Regions from separate parts of the Homo sapiens genome. Here region 1 is linked to region 2. The links are contacts of gene promoters, found by promoter capture Hi-C in human tissues and cell types (Jung and others, 2019). All regions are on one chromosome and are shown on one strand. Each heading gives the region's core, a stretch centred on a gene start or on the middle of the fragment in contact. The rest is flanking DNA. Distances are from core to core; before and after follow the strand shown. Region 1 has its middle 37 kb from the start of MOS. Region 2 holds the start of MOS (MOS proto-oncogene, serine/threonine kinase).

Region 1 (6,722 bases), core at 4,082-6,581, 39 kb after region 2:
CCGTTTTCACAATATTGATTCTTCCTACCCATGAGCATGGAAGGTTCTTCCTTTTTTTGTGTCCTTTTGTTTCGTTGAGCAGTGGTTTGTAGTTCTCCTTGAAGAGGTCCTTCACATCCCTTGTAAGTTGGATTCCTAGGTATTTTATACTCTTTGAAGCAATTGTGAATGGGAGTTCACTCATGATTTGGCTCTCTGTTTGTCTGTTGTTGGTGTATAAGAATGCTTGTGATTTTTGCACATTGATTTTGTATCCTGAGACTTTGCTGAAGTTGCTTATCAGCTTAAGGAGATTTGAGCTAAGACGATGGGGTTTTCTAAATATACAATCATGTCATCTGCAGACAGGGACAATTTGACTTCCTCTTTTCCTACTTGAATACCCTTTATTTCTTTCTCTTGCCTGATTGCCCTGGCCAGAGCTTCCAACACTATGTTGAATAGGAGTGGTGAGAGAGGGCATCCCTGTCTTGTGCCAGTTTTCAAAGGGAATGCTTCCAGTTTTTGCCCATTCAGTATGATATTGGCTGTTGGTTTGTCATAAATAGCTCTTATTATTTTGAGATATGTCCCATCAATACCTAGTTTATTGAGAGGTTTTAGCATGAAGGGCTGTTGAATTTTGTCAAAGGCCTTTTCTGCATCTATTGAGATAATCATGTGGTTTTTGTCTCTGGTTCTGTTTATATGATGGATTACGTTTATTGATTTGTGTATGTTGAACCAGCCTTGCATCCGAGGTATGAAGCCAACTTGATAGTGGTGGATAAGCTTTTTGATGTGCTGCTGGATTTGGTTTGCGAGTATTTTATTGAGGAGTTTTGCATTGATGTTCATCAGGGATATTGGTCTAAAATTCTTTTTTGGTTGTGTCTCTGCCAGGCTTTGGTATCAGGATGATGCTGGCCTCATAAAATGAGTTAGGGAGGATTCCCTCTTTTTCTTTTGATTGGAATAGTTTCAGAAGAAATGGTATCAAGTCGTCTTTGTACCTCTGGTAGAATTCAGCTGTGAATCCGTCTGGTCCTGAACTTTTTTTGGTTGGTTGGCTATTAATTATTGCCTCAATTTCAGAGCCTGTTATTGGTCTATTCAGAGATTCAATTTCTTCCTTGTTTAGTCTTGGGAGGGTGTATGTATCCAGGAATTTATCCATTTCTTCTAGATTTTCTAGTTTATTTGCATAGAGGTGTTAATAGTATTCTCTGATGGTTTTTGTATTTCTGTGGGATCAGTGGTGATATCCCCTTCATCATTTTTTATTGCGTCTATTTGATTCTTCTCTCTTTTCTTCATTAGTCTTGCTAGAGGTCTATCAATTTTGTTGATCTTTTCAAAAAACCACCTCCTGGATTCATTGATTTTTTGAAGGTTTTTTTTGTGTCCCTATCTCCTTCAGTTCTGCTCTGATTTTAGTTATTTTTTGACTTCTGCTTGTGTTTGCTCTTGCTTCTCTAGTTCTTTTAATTGTGATGTTAGGGAGTCAATTTTAGATCTTTCCTGCTTTCTCTTGTGGGCATTTAGTGCTATAAATTTCCCTCTACACACTGCTTTAAATGTGTCCCAGAGATTCTGGTATGTTGTGTCTTTGTTCTCATAGGTTTCAAAGAACTTTATTTCTGCCTTCATTTCAGTATGTACCCAGTAGTCCTTCAGGAGCAGGTTGTTCAGTTTCCATGTAGTTGAGCTCTTTTGAGTGAGTTTCTTAATCCTGAGTTCTAGTTTGATTGCACTGTGGTCTGGGAGATGGTTTGTTATAATTTCTCTTCTTTTACTTTTGCTGAGGAGTGCTTTACTTCCAACTATGTGGTCAATTTTGGAATAAGTGTGATGTGGTGCTTAGAAGAATGTATATTCTGTTGATTTGGGGTGGAGAGTTCTGTAGATGACTATTAGGTCCGCTTGGTGCAGAGCTGAGTTCAATTCCTGGATATCCTTGTTAACTTTCTGTCTAGTTGATCTGTCTAATGTTGACAGTGGAGTGTTAAAGTCTGCCATTATTATTGTGTGGGAGTCTAAGTCCCTTTGTAGGTCTCTAAGGACTTGCTTTATGAATCTGGGTGCTCCTGTATTGGGTGCATATATATTTAGGATAGTTAGCTCTTCTTGTTGAATTGATCCCTTTACCATTATGTAATGGCCTTCTTTGTCTCTTTTGATCTTTGTTGGTTTAAAGTCTGTTTTATCAGAGATGAGGATTGCAACCCCTGCTTTTTTTTTTGTTTTCCATTTGCTTGGTAGATCTTCCTACATCCCTTTATTTTGAGCCTATCTGTTTCTCTGCATGTGAGATGGGTCTCCTGAATACAGCACACTGACAGTTCTTGACTCTACCCAATTAGCCAGTCTGTGTCTTTTAATTGGAGCATTTAGCCAATTTCCATTTAAGGTTAATATTGTTACTTGTGAATTTGATCCTGTCATTATGATGTTAGCTGGTTATTTTGCTCCTTAGTTGGTGCAGTTTCTTCCTAGCATCAATGGTCTTTACAATTTGGCATGTTTTTGCAGTGGCTGGTACCTGTTATTCCTTTCCATGTTTAGTGCTTCCTTCAGGAGCTCTTGTAAGGCAGGCCTGGTGGTGGCAGAATCTCTCAGCATTTGATTGTCTGTAAAGGACTTTATTTCTCCTTCACTTATGAAGCTTAGTTTGGCTGGATATGAAATTCTGGGTTGCAAATTCTTTACTTTAAGAATGTTGAATATTGGCCCCCACTCTCTTCTGGCTTGTAGAGTTTCTGCAGAGAGATCAGCTGTTAGTCTGATGGGCTTCCCTTTGTGGGTAACCCGACCTTTCTGTCTCTCTGCCCTTAACATTTTTTCCCTCATTTCAACTTTGGTGAATCTGACAATTATGTGTCTTGGAGTTGCTCTTCTCGAGGAGTATTTTTGTGGCATTCTCTGTATTTCCTGAATTTGAATGTTGGCCTGCCTTGCTAGGTTGGGGACGTTCTCCTGGATAACATCCTGCAGAGTGTTTTCCAACTTGGTTCCATTCTCCCCATCACTTTCAGGTACACCAATCAGAAGTAGATTTGGTCTTTTCACATAGTCCCATATTTCTTGGAGGCTTTGTTCATTTCTTTTTACTATTTTTTCTCTAAACTTCTCTTCTCTCTTCATTTCATTCATTTGATCTTCAATCACTGATACCCTTTCTTCCACGTGATCGAATTGGCTACTGAAGCTTGTGCATGCATCACGTGGTTCTCTTGCCAAGGTTTTCAGCTCCATCAGGTCATTTAAGGTCTTCTCTAAGCTGTTTATTCTAGTTAGCCATTGGTCTAATCTTTTTTCAAGGTTTTTAGCTTCTTTGCGATGGGTTCAAACATCCTCCTTTAGCTTGGAGAAGTTTGTTATTACTGACCGTTTGAAGCCTTCTTCTCTCAACTCCTCAGAGTCATTCTCCATCCAGCTTTGTTCCATCGCTGGCGAGGAGCTGCATTCCTTTGGAGGAGAAGAGGCGCTCTGATGTTTAGAATTTTCAGCTTTTCTGCTCTGGTTTCTCCCCATCTTTGTGGTGTTATCTACTTTTGGTCTTTGATGATGGTGATGTACAGATGGGGTTTTGATGTGGATGTCCTTTCTGTTTGTTAGTTTTCCTTCTAACAGTCAGGACCCTCAGCTGCAGGTCTGTTGGAGTTTGCTGGAGGTCCACTCCAGACCCTTTTTGGAGGTCCACTCCAGACCCTTTTTGCCTGGTTATCACCAGCGGAGGCTGCCGAACAGCAAATATTGCAGAATGGCAAATGTTGCTGCCTGATCCTTCCTCTGGAAGCTTTGTCTTAGAGGGACACCCAGCCGTATGAGGTGTCAGTTGGTCCCTACTGGGAGGTGCCTGCCAGTTAGGCTCCCCTGGGGTCAGGGATCCACTTGAGGAGGCAGTCTGTCCGTTCTCAGATCTCAAACTCCATGCTGGGAGAACCACTACTCTCTTCAAAGCTGTCAGACAGGGATATTTAAGTCTGCAGAAGTTTCTGCTGCCTTTTGTTCAGCTATGCCCTGCCCCTAGAAGTGGAGTCTACAGTGGTAGGCAGGCCTCCTTGAGCTGCAGTGGGCTCCACCCAGTTCGAGCTTCTGAGCCGCTTTGTTTACCTACTCAAGCCTCAGCAATGGCAGATGCCCCTTGCGCAGCCTTGCTGCTGCCTTGCAGTTCGATCTCAGACTGCTTTGCTAGCAGTGAGCGAGGCTCCATGGGCATAGGACCCTCCGAGCTAGGTGCGGGATATAATTTCCTGGTGTGCCATTTGCTAAGACCATTGGAAAAGCACAGTATTAGGGTGGGAGTGTCCCGATTTTCCAGGTACCATCTGTCATGGCTTCCTTTGGCTAGGAAAGGGAATTCCCCAACCCCTTGCACTTCCCGAGTGAGGTGATGCCCTGCCCTGCTTTGGCTCATGGTCCGTGGGCTGCACCCACTGTCCATCAAGTCCCAGTGAGATGAACCTGGTACCTCAGTTGGAAATGCGGAAATCACCTGTACTCTGCGTCGCTCATGCTGGGAGCTGTAGACTGGAGCTGTTCCTATTCGGCCATCTTGGAACCTCTCCCAAACCCAGCTATATTTTAAACGGATAACATGACTAAACTGAAAGTGATGGGGGGTAACTGTGAACACAGTATTTTGACTACACGCCTTTGGGGTAAAGACCAAAAGAACTGTAAACAAGTACTATGCTGCTCTTGTGAGTAGATATGGGTTAGCAATTATGAAGTACTTTTATGTATATTATAAAATTGTGTAAGTAAGTAAATACATTGTGGATAATAAGAACCAGGAGAAGAGAGTTAATATTTAAAAAGGGGGAAGGTTAGACTGAACTCTGAGTTGTTGTATTAAAATTTGCTGATGCATAACTATGGACTGGTAGAGATATATCTATCTGTATGTATATATATCTCTATATCTATAGAGATAGATACACACACACATATATACACACTTTTCCTCATATATTCACAAGAAAACTTCAGATCAACATCTCTCATGAACACAGACATGAAAATCCCTAACAAAATATTAGCAAATAAAATCCAGTAGTCCATAAAAAAGGATAATACTGCGCAACGAAGTTGGGCTCATCTCAGGAATATAGGGCTGGTTCAGCATTCAAAATCAATCAGTGCAACTCACTATATGAGTAGACTAGATAAGAAAAAACATATCAGTGAATGAAGAACAAACATTCAACAAAATTCAACATCTACTCATAATTTTAAAAAACTCATACAAACTAGAAGTTGAAAGGAATTTCCTTAACTTAATAAAAGATGTTTATGAAAAACTTCCAACTAACATCATACTTCATGGTGAGAGACTGAATACTTTCCCTATAAAAATACAGAAAAAGGCAAAGGTGTTTTTAATTAACACATTTACTTAACATCATCTTAGAAGTTCTAGCTAGTTCAATAAGGCAAGAAAAAGGAATAAAAGGCATATACAGCAGAAAGCAAGAAACACACACACACACACACACACACACACACACACCCCTACCTGGAACTAATAAGTGAGTTTAGCAAGGTCACAGGATATAAGGTTAATATACAAAAGTCAATTTTATTCTTATACATCACCAATAGAAACTGGAATCTGAAATTTAAAAAAATACCATTTACAATAACACTAAAGGAGTACTTAGATATAAGTCTTATAATATATGTGGGAGATTTGTATGTAGAAAACTATACAATACCAATGAAACAAAGAAGATCTAAATGACTGAAGAAAGATACTAAGTTCATGGATTGAAAGACTTAATATTTGAAAGGTGTTCATGTTTCCCAAATTATATATGCAACACAACCCAAATAAAAATCCAAAGAAACTTTTTAATAGGTATCAATATGTAGATTCTAAAATATATACAATCTATGTAATGTACACAGAACCAAAGGAATAGCCAAGGCAACTCTTAAAAAGGAAAATATACTCGGAAGATGCATGTGTCCTGATTTCAAGACTATTATAGTAATTATGATAGTGTGAGACTGGTGAAGTGATAAATACACACATCAATAGAACAGAATAGAAAAGCCAGAAATGAACAAGCGGTCCTAAAACAAATGACCATCCATTTGCAAAAAAAAAAAAAAAAAAAAAACCCAAATCACACGAACCTCAAACCTAATATACTTTACATCTTATACAAAAATTAAATCATGGTCTACATGTAAAACATAACAATACACAACCTATAGAAAAAAATCTAGAATATCTTCATGACCTTAGGTTTGGTTATAAATTTTTAGATACAATTTCAAAAGCCCAATCCACAAAAGAAAAAAATACATAAATTGGACTTTACAAAAATGGAAAACTTTTGCTTTTTTTGATACTGTTGAAACAATGAAAAGACCAGCCACAGACTGGGAGAAAATGTTTGTAAATCGTTTATCTGATAAAGCATTCATATCTAGAATGCATAAGGAATTCTTAAAACTCAACAATAAAAAAATCAACCTAATACAAAATTAATCCAATAAAAAATAGACAAAGGATCTGAACAGATATTTTACTAAAAATGTTTTATGCAGTTGGAAAATAAACATATAAAGGTTCTCAACATCATTTGTTATTGGGAAATGTAAATTAAAACAACAATTAGCTAAAACCCCCTGAGACCAATATCAAAACAGCTTAAGAATGTGGGGCAACAGAAATTCTCATTCATTATTTATGGGAATAAAAAACTGGTACAGCCATTTTGGAAGACAGG
Region 2 (6,552 bases), core at 3,915-6,414:
TTTAGGTCCTGTCAAAGGACAGAGCTAGGAAATACATGTATGTGCGTACACACACACACAGACCCACACACATTAATGTCTGTTAGTATATCTATCCCTATCTCTCCTTTCATCTACCTCTATTAAAAACTACATGTTCATACTGATACTTCTAAACTCAATCTGACATTTCCTATTTCAATTTCAGTAGGGTTTATTCTAGACTTCCTCATTTCTATACTTGTAACTTCCTTTTCTAACAGTTACAAATCCTGGCTCCCATTCTCCTTGATGTATTTTCTTACTTGTTTAATCCTTCTGTATATGACTAATGTCCCCACCATATTAGCCAAGTATCTCATCCTCCAGCCCTGCTATCACCAAACATGCAGTCTGTGGCTGTGTCAAAGGGAATATTTTATCTTTTTCAATGGTATTGTAAAAAGAATCTTTCTTTTATAAATTCTAGCTGATTTTTGTTTACATAGTTGAAGTCTGCTTATTTCTGTATGTTAATTTTATATCCTGCAAACTTACATAATTATTTTGTTTTAGTTTTTCTATTGTCTTGTGTTTCTTTTCCAAGTATACATCCTGAAAATAGAATCTGCAAACAGAATTTGTTTTTCTTCTCTCTTTACAGTTTTAGACCTCAAGTTTAATTTTCTTTTTAAATATCACTGACCAATAAAACGTTAAATCATAATAGCAGTAGTGGGCATTCTTACATTATTCATGACTTTAGTGGAATGATTTCCTGTTAATATGGTAGCTATTGGGCTGAAATGTGTGGTGTTCTATACATTTTTAAGTTTTTATTTTGAAATAACTTTAGACATAGAAGAATTGCAGACAGTACATAAAATTCTTGTATAACATATCCTTTATTCAGTTTTCCCTATGTTATATAATCATGGTATTAATACATTTAAAAAAATAAGAAATATAAGAAATTAACATTAGTTATGTATTTTTTTTTAAAAAAGTGGGTTAGGTAAATATCTATTCCTCCTTCTTTTGAGTCTCTTTTTAAAAACCCGGAATGAACATTTAATTTTGTCAAATGTATTCTCAGCATATGTTCTTACTCTTTTAACCTGCTAATATGATGAAGTAAGTCAATAGATTTTCTAATATGAAACTATTTTTGCATCTTAGAAGAAATCCACTTGATTAAAAATAACGTGCATGATTATAAAAATTAACTCTTAGATTCTGTGTGCTAATATTTACTTAGGACACTGATAATTTTTTACACTGATAGTTTTAAACAAGATTGACCTGTCGTTTCTTTTTTAAAAGCAGTCTTTATGGAGTTTTGATGTAAATGTTATTCTTTTTTTTTTGAGACGGAGTTTCGCTCTTGTTGCCCAGGCTGGAGTGCAATGGCGCCATCTCAGCTCACCGCAACCTCTGCATCCCGGGTTCAAATGATTCTCCTGCCTCAGCCTCCCAAATAGCTGGGATTACAGGCATGTGCCACCACGCCTGACTAATTTTCTATTTTTAGTAGAAATGGGGTTTCACCATGTTGGCCAGGCAGGTCTCGAACTCCGGACCTCAGGTGATCCACCCACCTTGGCCTCCCAAGGTGCTGAGATTACAGGCGTGAACCACCGCGCCCGCCCGTATTATCTTGCTTAATACTTATCTTTGCACTGTTAAGTATGCCTTTACCTCTGACTTGATGTGTATGTCAAAGAGCATACTTTGACTCTTAGCTGCTACAGAGGGAGCAGTCATGCACCTGTTCTACCTCTCACCAGGGTGGTTTTCCAACAACTCAGACTTCTTTCATCTGTTTGTTTCCTTCCAATATGGCATTTCTGTGGATTTCTTCATGCAGCCACAACCTTCTTTCTCTCCAAAGCAAACCGGGCCCAGAAGGCTTCTGTGCCTGTCCAGTATTCCCTGCCCTGTCCCCAGGGTGACCCCCTCCTGTCCAGCAGCTGAATTTTGCTGCCAATTTCTGAGCTCTGCATGGCTGGATCCTCCGTAACACCTGCTCTTCCTTCTTTTTCTACCAACTCCTCTAACCTCAGCACTGTTTGATCTCATTCCTGTTCTCTGATTTCTTCCCCAACATTTGCACTTCCTAGTGGGCTCCTGTTCTCCAGGGCCCCTAATTTTGCAGGTCTCTCTGGGATCTGTCACTGCTGGGTCCCTTGGTCCCCACCCCCTTGCCCTGACGCCAGCCACCCCTTATCCTTTCTGCTCTCTTTCCTTAAGGCTCCATTCAATCTTTAGTTATCACATTTTAGAGTTTGTTTTCTCTACCCCAGATTCACTGATTATGGAGCCTACAGTGTTTATTCCCCCTTCTTCATCTTGTCATTCTATGTGGTCTCCAGGTGAAGGGAAGATACTATTGTAATTTAAACTTACCAACATGAACTCCTATTGCCACAATAGTCAGAGAAGGGGGCTGGGCACAGTGGCTCAAGCCTGTAATCCTAGGACTTTGTGAGGCTGATGTGGGGGGATCACTTGAGGTCAGGAGTTCAAGACCAGCCTGGCCAACATGGTGAAACCTCGTCTTTACTAAAAATACAAAAATTAGCCAGGTGTGGTGGCACGTGCCTGTAATCCCAGCTACTGGGGAGGTGGAGGTTGCAGTGAGCCAAAATTGTGCCACTACACTCCAGCCTGGGTGATGGAATGAGACCCCATCTCAAATAATAATAATAATCAGAGAAGGGAATTCTTTATCGGTATAGGTGGTTTGTTCCCCCAACTACCTGGACAGAGTTAGCAGCACTCTGTCAGTGTTTTACATGGCCACAGACAGCTCCCTTTTGCTTTTCTGAAGAACAGTTTCAAACCATGTTCTCACTCTGTAGACTCCCCTACCCTCAACCACTCTTAACAGAAAAAAAATAGAAGTTCACAGATGTGTGCTTCCCCAGTCCCCTTTTTCCTAGGGTAAATGTGTCTATAATACCAGTGTGCCCCCACCCTTGGCTCCCATCCTGGGAAGAGATGCCCTTTCTCTCCAAGATGACAATCTCTTCCCCTAGGTACTATGCTTCATCCCTTCTACAAGTATCTAAACTTTATCAATTATCTTTGCCTCTGGTGGCTCATTTTACAAATAAAATTATTTCTTTCAACCTAAAACTAAATGATACCAGATAAAAAATCTGAAAACATTTCTGTGTCTCTGACCCCCTTTTAAGCTTCCTGCCTCTCCCTCCTTAACAGTGCATGCACAGCCTCTGCTTCAGGGCCTTGCCATTCCCTCTGCCAGCCATTGCATCAGCCTTGCTTTCCACCATGCACAGAAACTGCTATTGCTAAAAGAAAGTCAAAGCTGTCCCAATGACAAAATCCAATCACCTTCTCCTTTAAATCCTATGTACCAACATCCATTGTTTTGATGTCTAGAGTGGGCAATCTAGTTCTATTTGTCTGTTCTCTTCCATCCAAATGTTAAATTTCATGATTCCTGACATCATATAATCTTTACCTTCTACTCCTACATTTTCCTCTCACATCATATAATCTTTATCTTCTACTTCTGAGTCCCAATACCAGGTAAAAATGACCCAGTTTAGAAGTGTTTTAGCAAAATGTTTCTACTCATTGCAATGCACAAGTTAAAGATATTACAATAAGTCATTTATGATATAATTCCTTTGAATGTAAATGTACCTCAGTGTATGACTTTTATGAGTGAAGGTCATTACAAACAAGAAGTTTTACTGGGGGGAGTAGTAGGAAAGCATTACTTATTTTTTTAAAAGTTTTTACTGATTTGGTGTGGGAGCAACTACACCATTAATAGTTGGAATTTATGTGGTAGGTATGGGATATATATGGATTTATAGAAAATTTTGACATTTCTGCAGTGGAGTTCTATTTTGGACAAACTTTTATCAATAACAAATTTAAATAAATGAAATACTAGCAATGGAAAGCAAAGCACATGACTATATGAATAAGATTAGTTACTAACAGTACTGAGACAACAGGTACTAGACTTGTAGCTTTGCTAATGTGTCCTAGAAAAAGCACTGGAGACTAAAGGAGTTTTTAGTAACTTTATTTTCTAAAACTCCATCCTACAAATATGTTTTCTTCGACATCTCCACTTCCTTTAAAAACAAATAGAATCAGACAAAAACTTATCTTGACCAGGTTTTCAGTCAGCCGAGTTCAGCTTTCAAAGAGGTGAGATCCACCAAAAGCAGCCGCGCGCTCGGCCTCTGCGCCGCGCTGGGTCTCCAGCAGCGCTGGATGACGTCCCCAAGGCGCTGCCCGGGGAGCGAGTCCTCGAAGACGGCAGCGGAGAGGGACGGGCGCAGGTCGTAGGCCACCACCGCGTACAGTATGTGCTGCCGCTCCCCCGAATACGGCGCCTGCTTGGTAGTCATTTGCCAGAGAGTGATGGCAAAGGAATAAATGTCGGCTTTAGGCGTCACGCCCTCTCCTTTCAGGAGCTCCGGGGCGCGGTGGGTGTATGTGCCTCCTAGAGGGTAAGAGGGTGTCTGGAAGCACAGCAGATCTTCCAACTTCTCAGAGCAACCGAAGTCACTAATTTTACAGACATCCTGCTCACTGATCAAGATGTTCGCGGGCTTCAGGTCCAAGTGCACAATGCTTTGCGAGTGGAGGAAGAGCAGGCCGTTCACAACATCTAGTGAGTACTTGAGACACTTTCCCAAACTTAACTGTCCTCCAGTGCGGCAGTGAGGCTCCCCTGCGTCCCCCTCAGGGTGGCCGGCGGCGCCATAGATGACTTGGTGTAAAGTGACGTTGCCACCGAACTCCATGATGATGGTCCCTAGGCTATTGGACCCTGCGGGCGTGCGCGTGCTGGCAGCCACCACGCGCACGATGTTATCGTGGCGCAGCCTTGCTACGTTGAGCTCAGCCCAGAAACTCCGCCGAGATGCTAGTCGGTTCTTGGTGCACTTGTTCACTTGCTTTATGGCCACAGGAACACCGCGGTAAGTCGCCTTGTACACCGAGCCAAACCCTCCAGCTCCCAGCCTCTGCAGCAAGCACACCTGCTCCCAGTCAATGGAGCACCAGGCCAGCCGGCGCGGCAGCCGCGGGGCCCGAGGAAGAGTGGCCCCCAGAAGCAGCTTCGCAGGTAGCTCTGAGGGACTGCTGCAGGGCCGCGCGTCCACCGATGGGGAAAACTCGCTCCGGAGGTAGGGGCGTAGGGCCAGGGGCGAGGGCATCGCACTTTGCAGGGGGACACCAGGGCCGCTGGAGTGAATGAAGAGACTAGGGGAAACCGCGGGACTTTGGAAACATGACTGACTACTCCTTCGCTCCACCTCATCCCTTTTCTCCTTTTCCTTCACTTGTTCCAAATGAGCTACATCTGTGCTGTCACTCAGCAAGAGTTTTTATCAGATGGAGGGAGAAACCGGAATGAAGCACAGCTATCCCTTTCAGATGAAAGCATTTCCCTTCCACACTTGAAGTGAATTCTTATAAAAACAAGCTCATGCCAGACAAACAGCATGGAGCTGCCTCAGAACTCACCCCTCTTTTACATTATTTCTTAAATTATAATAAAATACGTTTTTTTCAAGTCTCATCCGCTGCACATTATCAGTCCTCAGACTAAAGAGACCACAAAGCACAATGAAATTGTTTCACACTTTGCAGGCTGTAATGATTGTTAGTGTCATTCTCCAGCTGCATTAAATCACTTCCAGCAGGTATTGGCTAAGAGTTAAAATGCAAACAGCAGACATTTGTTTAACCAATTACAGGGAAAAACTAGGTGCAACATTCATATGGATAAAAAATTGCAACCTTAATCAATCCAAATAGAATCACTGATACAGGTCATAACACACACCTAAATTCATCAGTGGAAAGGAGAATCCCCTGACACTCTATGCAGCTTACACAGCAAATTAGCAAGACATCTTAGCAACATACTGACTTCCTAACAATCCTTCCCTTCCAAGGCGATTTGGCCCAACCGGTCAGCTCACTTGCAAGAGAGATTCTAGACTTCGTAGCAAATGAGTTACCGAAGTTTTGAACCAGAGTTGGGGGAGACAAAAGAATAGAAATGATTCAGAGCTGTGATCAGGGCTTCAAATAATAACACATATGGGAGAATTGTAGAAGAGGAAAAATCTGAAGAAATAAAAATGGCACAAAATCACTGGTACCTACATATAATGTAGAAAACCAGAAGTTGGAATGAAATTCAGGGTATTGGCCATCAGACAATAAGATCTTTCTTTCTGATTTTTATAATGAAAATTAATTTTCTACCAAGTGCAGTGAGTTATGCCTATAATACCAGTGCTTTGGGAGGCTAAGGTGGAAGGGCCACTTGAGGCCAAGAATTTGAGACCTGCCTCTACAAAAAATAATAATAAAGTTAGCTGAGTGTGGTGGTGCACTCCTATAGTCCTAGCTACTTTGGAGGCTGGGGCGGGAGGAGACTTGAACTGAGGAGTTTGAGGCTATAGTGAGCTATGATCGTGCCACTGCACACCAGGCTGGATGATGGAGCAAGATCCTGACTCTAAGCAAAAAATTAATTTCATACCATATCTTTGGAAAAAGGACCAATAATATTACCATATTCATGAGAAA

Evidence for each region. The method cuts DNA at HindIII sites, captures the fragments that hold promoters and counts their contacts. A contact is called where the count stands out against the background at its distance.
Region 1: a fragment that was not itself captured here is called in contact with the fragment with the promoter of MOS in region 2 in 3 of the 25 tissues and cell types used here (H1 embryonic stem cells, aorta and stomach).

The regions. Positions count from the first base shown.
Region 1 is chr8:56,147,746-56,154,467 of GRCh38, forward strand. No RefSeq gene overlaps it. Among named protein-coding and RNA genes, the nearest start is that of MOS, 37 kb to the left of the region's middle. The HindIII fragment of the contact is 7,248 bases long and covers 1,708-6,722 here.
Region 2 is chr8:56,108,818-56,115,369 of GRCh38, forward strand. It overlaps MOS (MOS proto-oncogene, serine/threonine kinase), which reads right to left and starts at 5,165. Exons shown (of 1, transcript NM_005372.1): 1 at 4,125-5,165. The coding sequence starts at 5,165. The coding sequence ends at 4,125. RefSeq lists an enhancer at 4,544-5,044. The HindIII fragment of the contact is 8,406 bases long and covers 798-6,552 here.